3 separate regions of the Homo sapiens genome follow, and all the other regions are linked to region 1. The links are contacts of gene promoters, found by promoter capture Hi-C in human tissues and cell types (Jung and others, 2019). All regions are on one chromosome and are shown on one strand. The core of a region is centred on a gene start or on the middle of the fragment in contact, and the rest is flanking DNA. Distances in the headings are between cores, read along the strand shown.

The links. The method cuts DNA at HindIII sites, captures the fragments that hold promoters and counts their contacts. A contact is called where the count stands out against the background at its distance.
Region 2: a fragment that was not itself captured here is called in contact with the fragment with the promoter of SPCS3 in region 1 in 1 of the 25 tissues and cell types used here (dorsolateral prefrontal cortex).
Region 3: a fragment that was not itself captured here is called in contact with the fragment with the promoter of SPCS3 in region 1 in 1 of the 25 tissues and cell types used here (dorsolateral prefrontal cortex).

What each region holds. Positions count from the first base shown.
Region 1 is chr4:176,318,032-176,321,913 of GRCh38, reverse strand. It overlaps SPCS3 (signal peptidase complex subunit 3), which reads right to left and starts at 1,948. Exons shown (of 5, transcript NM_021928.4): 1 at 1,695-1,948. The coding sequence starts at 1,837. SPCS3-AS1 (SPCS3 antisense RNA 1) reads left to right here and starts at 1,404. Exons shown (of 4, transcript NR_186171.1): 1 at 1,404-1,769. RefSeq lists silencers at 1,235-1,314, 1,345-1,414, 1,535-1,654 and an enhancer at 1,637-2,137. The HindIII fragment of the contact is 9,129 bases long and covers 1-3,882 here.
Region 2 is chr4:175,819,137-175,823,018 of GRCh38, reverse strand. It overlaps a transcript of GPM6A not described here. Among named protein-coding and RNA genes, the nearest start is that of GPM6A, 8.8 kb to the right of the region's middle. The HindIII fragment of the contact is 7,955 bases long and covers 1-3,882 here.
Region 3 is chr4:175,893,485-175,897,366 of GRCh38, reverse strand. It overlaps a transcript of GPM6A not described here. Among named protein-coding and RNA genes, the nearest start is that of GPM6A, 83 kb to the right of the region's middle. The HindIII fragment of the contact is 4,982 bases long and covers 1-3,882 here.

The DNA.
Region 1 (3,882 bases), core at 699-3,198:
AAAGAATAGTAAATACTTGATGTAAAGCAATTTTGCAGAATGGGTAGAAGAAAGCTACACATGACTACAAGGTGATACGAATACTAACAGATGGCATATTAAAGGGTGATACAGTAATCACCCCCTTATCCGAGGTTTCACTTTCCGGTTTCAATTATCCGCGGTCAATCTGGTGTGAAAATAGGTGAGTCCAGTAAAATAAGTTATTTTGAGAGAAGGGGAAAGAGATCATATTCACATAACTTTTATTATAGTATATTGTTACAGTTCTATTATGTTATTGTTAATCTCTTATTGTGCTTAACTTGTAAGTTTTATCATAGGTAGGTATGTATGTACGGTATAGGAAAAAACCAAGTATATATAGGGTTTGGTGCTATCCGTGGTTTCAGCCATCCACTGGGGGTCTTGGAACGTATACCTACCCCATTAAGGGGATACTACTGTAACCAGCTGCTATTTACTGTTTACTACGGCTCAGACCCACTGACAATATTTTTCACATTTCAAATAATTCTCACAACCTAAAAATTAGGTATTACTTCCATCTTAAACAAAAAGAAATTAAGGCCCAGAATGGTAAGAAAACTTGCTCAAGACAACAACAGCTAACATCTGTTCAGTGTTTAATATGCACCAAGCTCTTCTAACCCTCACAGGGCTGACAATGGCAGTGCTGATGTCCACCCCAGGTCTATTCGAACAATATCTAACAAACATCAGTACAGTAATTTAAAAAAAAAAAAAAAAGGTGGGGGGAGAAGGCTCGCTATTTGATAACTGGCTTCTTGGCGATTCTGACAAAGAAATAAACTAAGGTTAAAGAACTTGTGTAAGACGGAAATAGAGTAGAAGGGTATGAGAACAAGAGATGGAAAAATACGACGATTAAAGACAAAAGTGCCAGAGAATAAAATCAAGGACAAAATAGGCAATAGCGAAATGGCACTGTCATTTCGAACTGCATTTTTTGGCGTTTTCGCAGACTTCTTCAAGTGGTTGGCAAAAGAAAAAGAAATAAAGAAACCCAACAAAACAAAAATCTCGCTGTATCAGAAGGCTAAGATGCTTAATTCTCTCAGTGCCCAACATCTCTGGCCAACTTCAAAGCAGCTCCAACTGTTTACTGCCTTCTGAAGGTGCAAAGGCAACAACTGTAAAGGGAATGTCAAACAGGGCAAACTCGGGTGATGAATGACACAAAGACAACCCCGTCCTGTGGCCTCCAGAGCCGCCAGGAAACCCCACGGAAGCCCGACCCAGAGCGCGGCGGCAGCGCCTGGAGGGCCTCGCATGCGGACCACGAGCGGCACCGGACGCGCGGGAGGCGCCAGCCCAGGCGGGCGGCGGCGCCGGCTCTGCTGTTGTGTTGCTCCCTCATTGGCCAGGCGTGGGTGGAGGGAAGTGAGGAACAGGAAGCAAGCGGAGGCACCGACCTGAGGAACGCTCAAAATTAAAATTTAAGAGCAAGCCCGGGAATTTACGGTGGAGGGGTGCAAGTTCCGAGGGGACGCCGGAAAAGCCTGCGACGTCCACCCCTGACGACCGCCCTCGGGGGCGAACTGCCGCTCAGGAGGGCGATCCGGACGCCCTGCCCGCGGCCCCGGCACGGCAGCCCCGGCGCGGCGGCCCGGCTTCGGCTTCCGCCCCAGCCCGGTCCCGGCGTCCTGCACCGCCGGCCCGGCCTCACTCACAGCATGATCCGCGAGACGTGCAGCCGCACCGGGACGCTCCTGTCTTTGAAGGCGGTGGTGATGAAGCAGCCGAAGGTGAGCGCCGCCATCACGCTCAGCGAGAAGGCGAACAGTGAGTTCGCCCGCGACAGCACCGTGTTCATCGCGATCGTCTCCCACGAGTCCGGACTCCACACGCACACCCAGGCTCCCGTTCCGGCGGCGGACCGGCTCCCTGCGATCCGCGCCGTCTGCGGTGCGCGCGTTCCGGGAGCGCGCGCCGCCGCAGCCCCGCCTCCTTTCCGGTCCTCCGACGCGAGCGCGCGCGCGCCCGCTTCCCGAAACACACCCACAGCGCGCACGGGGCGGCGCGGAAAGGGAGAGACTCAGCCGCGGGCCCGCCCCTCCGTCGCGGCCTAACGCCGCCACCAATCAGCGACGAGTGAGGGAGGGGCGGGGTTTGTTGTGGAAGACCCACCCCCTCCTCTTCTAAATTGCTTCTCCGACCTTTGGGTTCAGAGAATTGGGAACCGGTCGTTCGCTGTCCTTTTTCGGTTCTTTGGTCAGAGGTCTGGGACTGCGACTTCTTGATTACTTATGTACCATTTATTTTCACTTGAAACCGGCAGCAAGTTAAGGTGGTTTAGAATCTGTCCTGACGGGTGGCGTTTGGAAGCAGCACTTTACAAAACGCCTGGTCCTCTCCCTTCTTTGTCAAACCTGGTCAAAGTTAGGACTTGAGCTTTTTTTGGAGGATCTGAGGAGCAGTGGGGAGTGGGGAATTAGCCGCCCAAGTCCTTAAAGCTGTCACGTGCATCAGTATTTCCACCTCCAACGTCAGTCCAATTCCTATTAATGCTTTGCTTTGTATGGATAGCTAAAGATGTTTTAGAAGATAAGGGTTGAGGCTACCGATCCTAAGTATTTGCATTTTAACATGGTGATTTCTGATAAATAAAAGGATAACCTTTCTGGGTTCTTAGGAGCAAAGAAGATAATGGCTGCGGAATTGCTCTACAGCATAATGTATAAGAATTTCGTTGGGTCATTAATAAATAATGCAATTATTTTATCACATTTTCAATATCCTGAAGGGCATTAGGGTTCAAACCGAGCCAATCCTGACTCTGATTATACTATCTGCCAAAACCTTTGTTCCTTTCACAGCTAAGGGTTTTTATAAAAATGGATTCAGGGTCTGCTGAAATAAATTTTTTTTAAAAATTTCAGTCCATAAACCAAACAAAAATATCTGTCCTGGAATGTGATCAGGAACAAACCAGAAAACTGTGAACATCTGATCTTGATACTGGCTTATGTTGTCTCTTGTTAAGCTTTTGCTTCTTTGCATTATTCATGACCATTCAATTAATTTTTGTATAGCCATACAGGTAGGATTATTACCAAGTGCCTACCGTGTACCAGGAATAGTTCTAAGCCTTGAGAATACAGCACTAATAAGGCAGACTCCCTGCTCAAATAGAGCCAACTAATGAAAAATCGATAAAATAGAGACTAAAGAGAGATCCTTAGTTGCGTTTAAAATCTTAGTTTTTAACTTCCAGGCTGGCACAGTTTGTTAACAAAAAAAGAAAAAAAAGGATTTTTATTGAATGCCATCTATACTGCAAGTGATACAGAGATTGTACTGATCACTTTCTACACTCAAAAGTATATAATCAGGTAGAGTTAATAAAATAAAAACAAATCTGAAATGTAAAACAAAAAAATACCCTGGGAAGTTACATAGCAAAGGAGGAAGGAATTACAGCCCTGGTAATGTGGGACAACACAGTGTGCAAATTATTTAACACAAAGCCTAAACAAGACACATTATTATTATAGCATGTTTTAGGGAAATAATTCTTGTTGTTGAACTGCAAGTACAGGTATATCTAAGAGATACTCAGAAGGCTGGTCCTGATAAACAATGCATGTATAAAAGAGTAAGCAGAAATAAGCCTGGAAAGGTAAGTTATGGTAGAAAACCAGGTCAAGAAGTTGACTTTATATCAGGGAAATTACATGTAAAACAAGCATCGCTACACAGGCAACCATTTACCAGTTATATGTGGAGAGTGAGTGATGGACCCAAAAGGAAGACTGATAGGAGGGGCATTTCGGAAACAAACTCTATGTTACTTAGCAACTGCCTAAATAAGAGTGGGGGTCTGCAAAGCATAGAGTGAATGCAGATTGTGAACACTCA
Region 2 (3,882 bases), core at 769-3,268, 500 kb after region 1:
CTATAACATTTTAGCTGCAGTTAGTGGTAACCAACTTATTATTGTCAGTTTTGTAAAATTATTAAGTTTTCTGATAATTAAAATAATATTGTACCTATATAAAAAGTATCAAAAAGCATGTAAAGAGATGAGAACACATGGACACAGGGAGGGGAACATCACACACCGGGGCCTGCCAGAGGCTGGGGGCAAGGGGAGGGAGAACACTAGGACAAATACCTAATGCATGCAGGTCTTAAAGCCTAGATGACGAGTTGATAGGTGCAGCATATCACCATGGCACATGTATACCTATGTAACAAACCTGCAGTTCTGCACATGTATCCCAGAACTTAAAGTACAATGTTTTCAAAAAACAAAAAAAAAAGCATGAAAAGAATTAAATAAATTATCTCAAATACCACTTTCTAGAAATAAGCACTCTTAACATTTTCCAATAGATCTGTATAGGTTTGTTTCAATGCATATGTTTATGAACATTTTAAAATACAAAAGGATACTATTTATACTGTTGTTATATACTTCTATCACTTTATTGTGAACAGCTTTTCATTGTTAATACAGACAACTTATGTAATCATTAACTGCTATACAGTATTCCCATTTTTGGATATACCAAAAATTTTAATAAACGATTCTCCTAAAGTGGACAGCTTTTTAAAAAGGCATTATGTATGTTTAGAGAAAAATAGATAGAAAAGGATAAGATTTCCAATTAAAAGAAGTTTTCAAAATATTAAATTGAAATTAAAGCAATTACATATCATGACCAATTCTCTGTTTGGGAATGCAAACAGAGTTTAACATCAGAAAATCTACAAATGCAATTCTTACTTTAATATATAAATGGATGCAATTTGTATAATCATCTTACTTGATGGAGAATAAAACATTTTTTCTGATTCAATACTTTATAATAAATGAACCTCAGAAATGTGTACTAGAAGGGAACTTATTTAAACAGATAAAAAATGTCTATGCAAACCTACTACAAATAACACATAATAATGAAACCATAGAATCATTTCTTTTAAAATCACTGCTCAATTCAACACTGTGTTGGGGACCCTAGAATGCACAGTAAAACAGAGGAAATAAATTAAAATATATAGATTGGACAGTTAGACTCATATTTGTTTTAATTCAAATATGTGAATTTCTACATAGAAATTTCAAGACCTATGCATTATTAGAACTATAGGAGAGTTTAGCAAATTTGCTTCTTATAGGACTGATTTTTAAAATCCAATAATGTGTTCCTTTGCTTCAGTCAAAAAAAGTCTTGAGAGATTTAGTATAAAATACCTCTAAAAGAAATCAAAATACTTAGGAATAAAAACAAAAAAAAATATGCAAAGCTCCTAGGGAGAACATTTTAAAACATTCTTAAAATATATGAAAAAAAGTTCTCAACATATGGAAAGAGATCTCATGTTCATGGAAAGAGATTCAATTTTGTAAAAATGTTAATTATGTCTCATTAATCTATGAAGTTAATTTAAGTTCAATAAATATAAGTTCACCTCCCCCTCATTATATTTGAAAGCTGATTCTAAAATATATATAGATGACCAAAAACCAAGATTAACTAAGGCACTGTAAAAATATATATGTTAGACATTTAATTGCTATGGAATTAGTATTCAGAACTTACAAATAACATCTATAGAATAATACCAAAAAGCAAACAATACTGTGGGCAAATGAGTGAAGGGCATGAATATACATTTCTCAAAAGAGGAAAATCATTGGCTAATTGCAAGAAAATGTTCTCAACTTTATGAGATACTTAAGGAAATCATATTAAGATATATAATTAATACTCATGTAAATTAAAAGATTTATCTTTGGTAACATTTAAAAATTACTAAGTATAGAAGACGTAGAACAGTAGGATTCTCAGATAGTTCTTAGGGAAATTTAAATTGGCACAAGCACTTTGAAGGGCTTTTTAACACACATATTATTGAAGACATACATAATCTCCTACCCAATGATTCCACACATACATACACCTCAGACTTGTAGGGAAAATTTTAAATGTATGCACTAAACATATATAAAAATATTCATTGTAATTTTTTACAGTTGTTTAGAAATTAGAAACAATATTAAATGTTTATCAACAGATCCGCATATACATTAAAAGATTGAGGAAGAAGTTGCGAAAAGAGACATATAAGAAGATATTCTTGATATCTAATCAAAACCTACAAAACAGGCCGGGTGTGGTGGCTCATGCCTGTAATCCCAGCACTTTGGGAGGCTGAGGTAGGTGGATCACTTGAGGTCAGAAGTTTGAGACCAGCCGGCCAACATGGTGAAACCCTGTCACTACTGAAAATATAAAAATTAGCTGGGCGTGGTGGCGCATGCCTGTAATCCCAGTACTTGGGAGGCTGAGGCAGGAGAATCACTTGAACCCGGGAAGGGGAGGTTGCAGTGAGCAGAGATTGCACCACTGCACTCCAGCCTGGGCAACAGAGCAAGACTCCATCTCAAAAAAAAAAAAAAAAAAGAAAGAAAAGAAAAAAGAAAACCTACAAAACAATACTAACTATGGTGTGTATATATATCTGTATACACACAGACACACATATGCATGCACACACATATTAAATAATAAGGACAACATACAGGAATAAAAACTCTCCAGTCCTGAGTGATTATTAACAGGAGGTAGGGCTGAAGAAGATATAAGGAAAGGAATGCAGTTAGAGAACACGTATAATCGACTTTATACTTTATTTTCTATGTTGGGTGGTAGTACAAGTGTTTATTATTTTGGTCTCAAGAGCTAATTTAAAAAAAGAAAATAAGAAGGAATAATAACTGTGCATAAAGTCCTAATGGCTAAATTGTGGCACTGAATAGAGTTTGAAGATCAGAGATACGTCCACTGAGTAAAAGTCTCCATATTTCTGCTAAACCGCTTAGATGATAATTGCATTTGTTGACGAAAGCTATCAAGCATATTAGAAATCTTAAAGAACGTTCTCTACTTCAACTCCCTATAGTAGTTTTACTCTGAAATCACACTTTTGTTGATTTATTGCTGTTTAAACTGAGTATTAATATTTTTAACTTCAATCGTAAGTTCTTTGAGTATGAGAATCATTTCTTCAACTTTTTTGTGTGTCTCTCACAGCATCTGGCAACATGTTGGGCATATGGGAAGCAGTTAAATGTTTTTGTTTTTGGATGAATACAAATATTCATGTTGTGAGAAGACTTTACAATCAGGGCCTTTTCCTACATTAAATGCCTTTGGGTCTACTACTTACATAAGTGTAGGCGGATATCCAGGTGGTTCAAAGAATGGGCTTTGGGGTCAGAATGCCTATGTTTAAATCCCATCTTCCCCACCCTGTTACTTGCTACAAAGAATTTAATCTTTTTGTTTCGATTTCCTCCTCTATCAAAATGGGGACAATAGTAATTACCTGACAGGGCTGTTGTGGTGAAGGTTAAATGGGATATACACTTTTTAGAAACTTAGAACAATGCCTCACACATGTGAAGTGCTGAGTATAATTGTCATTAATATTAATATAATTGCACCTATCATACTTTGTTCCAATTGTTTGTCTCTCTCTTCCATCTTTGCTATTAGCTCTGTTAGAGCAGGAAACTACATCTGTCCTGTTCACCTGGCTCAGCTTCAGATACCTAGTAGTCATTGAGTAAATGCAACTTGAGTGACAGAGTGAGCTATAAAGTTTATTCTTTGGTGAGCTCAATTTAAAGTAGAATTTTTGTGACCACAGAGAATCAGCTTGGGCCAATTTTTGTGATCTCTTTCTCAATTAGTAGTAGTGTTTGGATTTTGAGTAAACAGAGGCCACTGCTGCTTACCCATTGCATAGTTTTTAACCCCTCATG
Region 3 (3,882 bases), core at 577-3,076, 420 kb after region 1:
AGGCACTGGAGTGAGATTGGAGAGTGGGAAGTAAGGAGAAGCCAGGGTATTTATTATCCTTGTTCTCTGACTTCAGTGGCACCTCTCAAATGCAGCTCCTCTGAGGCTCTAGCTTCCAATGTAAGCCCATCCTGGTTTCAGCCACTTGCACTGACCCTGGACACCACAAGCATCACCTCCTCCCTCCAGCCCAGGCTGGACACCAGCTTCCTACATTTCCTAATCCCGAGGATGTCTCCCTGTCTTCTATGTGGCTTCTTGGCTCTTCTGTCCCCTATTCATCTTATTCCCTGTATTAACTTTTTTGATTTAAATGCTTAGAATGCTTTTTGTTTTCTATGTTGGGCCCTGACTGATTCATGAGGCAAACGAGATCTTTAAGTGCTTGAGTTAATCATCTTGAATTAAACATTTTCAGTGAATATAATAATTTTCCCTGATACACTATTCAAATGAAAGATGCCACCTCAAAGAAGAGGATTTCTGGGTGATTTGAAACAAACAAATGAACCAAAAGTCCTGTCAAACATCAATGTCTTTTCATTGACTAACACAGAATATGGCCTTGAATAACAAATGTGATGGCAAGTTGCTTTACTAAGATATTATTTTATGTATTTCTCCCCAGATTCTACCCTGTCTCCTGCCCCCACCCCAAGAAGATAGACAGGGCCTGTGGTGCCTATCTAATGGGGAGATTTTTGCAAGGCAGAAAACAGAAGCAGAAGACAGAAACAGAAGCAGAAAACAGAAACAGAAGCCTTTTGGAGTTAAAGGCTTTTTGAATTTTCTTAAACTCTTTAAAGAAATAGTGTTGGGTCCATAACTGGGGTAGAGTGAAGACAGAATTTGAAGTAATAAGGCTTTTGAAGAGTCAGATCAAGGCTTAAGGCTTCAAAGGGGGCAGACATGTCTGGATCTCAGGAATAGCTGAACTCACATCAGAATCCCAGGCACCTCCCCGAGCAGGTTGAATGATCTGAGGATAATTTTCTGGTGCATTTAGGGAGGCAGGATGCTAGGTACCTGTGACCCTAAAAAGTTTGTCATAGAGACCCCAGAACTTTGTGGCCTGAGGAACTATATGGATTGGGCTAAGTGTCTGTGGTCACCAAAGCAGAACGATGTGGGATCTTACCATCTACCTTGAGTCCCCCAAAACCCCCTGAGACTTCATCATCCTGAAATGTAAAGCTTCCCCAAAAGATAAAAGTCTAATTTCCTGCCACTCTTCCAGGATGGAAACTAGTGAGTTTACTGACTCATATTTATAAATCCTTTGCAAAAGTAATAATATGTGGTTCACGCTTTTTTATTTACAAAGCTACTACAAATTATATTTTAACAACCAGATGTTAACAGCAACTTTGCTTAGTAAAGGTCATAGGAAAAGGCCACAGATGGAGAGATTCAGGATTAATAAAAGCCAATGTAATAGAAAACATAATAAAATAAAAAACAAAGTAGATCAAATATTTCAGGGTTTATGCCAAGGTATGATTATGAAGAGTTACTAAAAAAGCTGTTAGGAAATATTTTAACTTGAGGTAATTACAAAAAATGCACTATTATACCCATACATCATATACAGTATACTTAATACAGAATTTGGAAAATATTGCAAACCAAATAAATATTCCATTTTCAACAATTTCTATGTTATTAAGTACTTGTGACATTGATTAATTGTATCTTCTACAGTTGAGACTTTACCAATATCCTACTGTTACTATATTAATAGGTTGATTTGGAATTTTAACTTGTTCATAACATGTCATCTGTTTAAATTTATTAGTAACTATATATCTCTTGGTGATATACATACCTGTAGATATTATTTTTCCTCATCTGTGTTTTCAAAATTTTCTGCAAAGAACATGTAACACTTTTGAAATGTTAGTTACCTTCCAAGTTCTTAGTTTTTTCCAATTGGCAATAAGAAAAGTTAACTTATTCACCATTTTTTTTGAAAAGATAGGATGCATTGTTTATATCAGTATTACTTTAATTGAAATTAACCTAAATTTATTCTGAGAAAAATATAAATAGGATTTTGAATCACGTATTCTTTATAGCAACCAAATGGAGTCATTTAGTTTATTCCAGCCCTTATAGAAGCTTACCAAACAGAGCAAAATGGATCACATATTTAAAAGCAAGTTGGCTACACTGGTGGCATCTCAAGTCATTCACTGGCATACTGAATCACAAGATGATTTCATTCTAAAGATCAAAGAAGATTTTGTTTTGCCTTTAAGTATTTGAGTTTGCTTTAAAGTTCACTGATTCATGGTTTCTCACTCTATCGCATTCTGGGTCCCCTGAAACACAAAGTAACACAGTAAAAAAAGGGATGGTAAGACACCAGTTGTAACATGTCTTATCAATGCTGTATACTGATTTGGGAAGCAGTGTGTTACAGTAATAGTGTTTTGACTTTTAGAAACAGAGAATGGGTTTAAAACTTGGACCTGCCACTTAGTAGATGCATGATGTGATACTTAATCTCTTTTTGAACTTCGAAGACCCTTATATAAGAAAATGGGGTCATGTATTCTTTGTATAATATTTTGTGTATGAGTTTTCCTCCTAAATGATACTAGAGTGTGTTTGAAATTAATTAGCCAAAATGATTTAGCCACTCCCCTTTTGACAGATTTTTGAGGGGTTTCTGTGGTTTTACTATTAAAAATATATACTACTAACATTAAAATCCTTGTATTCTTGTTGTTTGTGCAGGTTACTCTGGATTAGGAATGATGAAAGGTAGAAGGGTAGAAAATGTAGTCTCATTATTAACTGGAAGACATTATTAACCATGGAACACACTCTTTTTGCATGCATAAAAATCTCTTTCTTTTCATGAAAAGCAATTGTGGGCAGAATGGAGCAGCTATTTCCTCAGAGGGGAGTCACTCTATCAGACAGAGTTAGTCTTTTATATTTTGTGACTCTGTCTTTCGAGCTAAGGCAGAGCAATTGTTCTTTAGCACCCCTTCCTCGCTTTTTCGCTATATACAGAAGTATCTTCCTATAGATTAGATATAGATGATTTCCCACTTGGACTTAGTAGTTGCTGAGAACACTTAATTTGGTCTATCACTTTTCCTTTTTTTTCTGAGCAAAAGTATCTTCAAAGAACTAAAAAAAAATGTAATTCTAACATGAGGACGGTCTGCTATCTTATCTTCTGTTTTCCAATTATATCTGCCATCTCAGTTTTAAGATCAACAAAGAAGGTGGATAAAGCACTTGTGAAATTATCAGCCACACTGAGACAACAGTATTCTCAGAAGTAGGAGTTAAGGGGTCTCTGAAATAAGAGATTAATTTATTTTTAATCTCTGTCTTTTTTAAGGATTGGATTTTTGACCAATCCATTTCAACAGGAATGATCTCAGAGATAGAATGTGAGGTGTGCAGCTCTCTCAAATGTTGATCATTATATTTTATATCATTTTGTTAATTAATTTATATCGCTTTTTCTTACCGAGTTTTAGCACCTTCATGTCCTACAAAGAGATGAGTTGATAGATATCAGGTTATCTTAGACTACACATTCCTAGAATAAACTTATATTCTTCAGTGAACTTCTGTTTTTACTTAGGAAGGTTAGGAAACGTAACTAGATTATGCAAATCTGATCTGAACAAAGATTTGAAGATATAAAACGAATGAGGTTAGTTATCATCCCCACCTGTCTTATAAGACATTAAGAAGGAATATTATCTATTCAGGGGGTAGTTTAAGAAAAACTGGCCGAGGAAAGAAAGGAGGACCCCATGAAGGTGCTGGAGGATCAGGAGGAAGAATAGAACAAGAGGAAAAAGGCAGTCAGCTTAAGGGAGGCCAGGAGGGAGGCTGATCAGAGTAAGGTCAGGA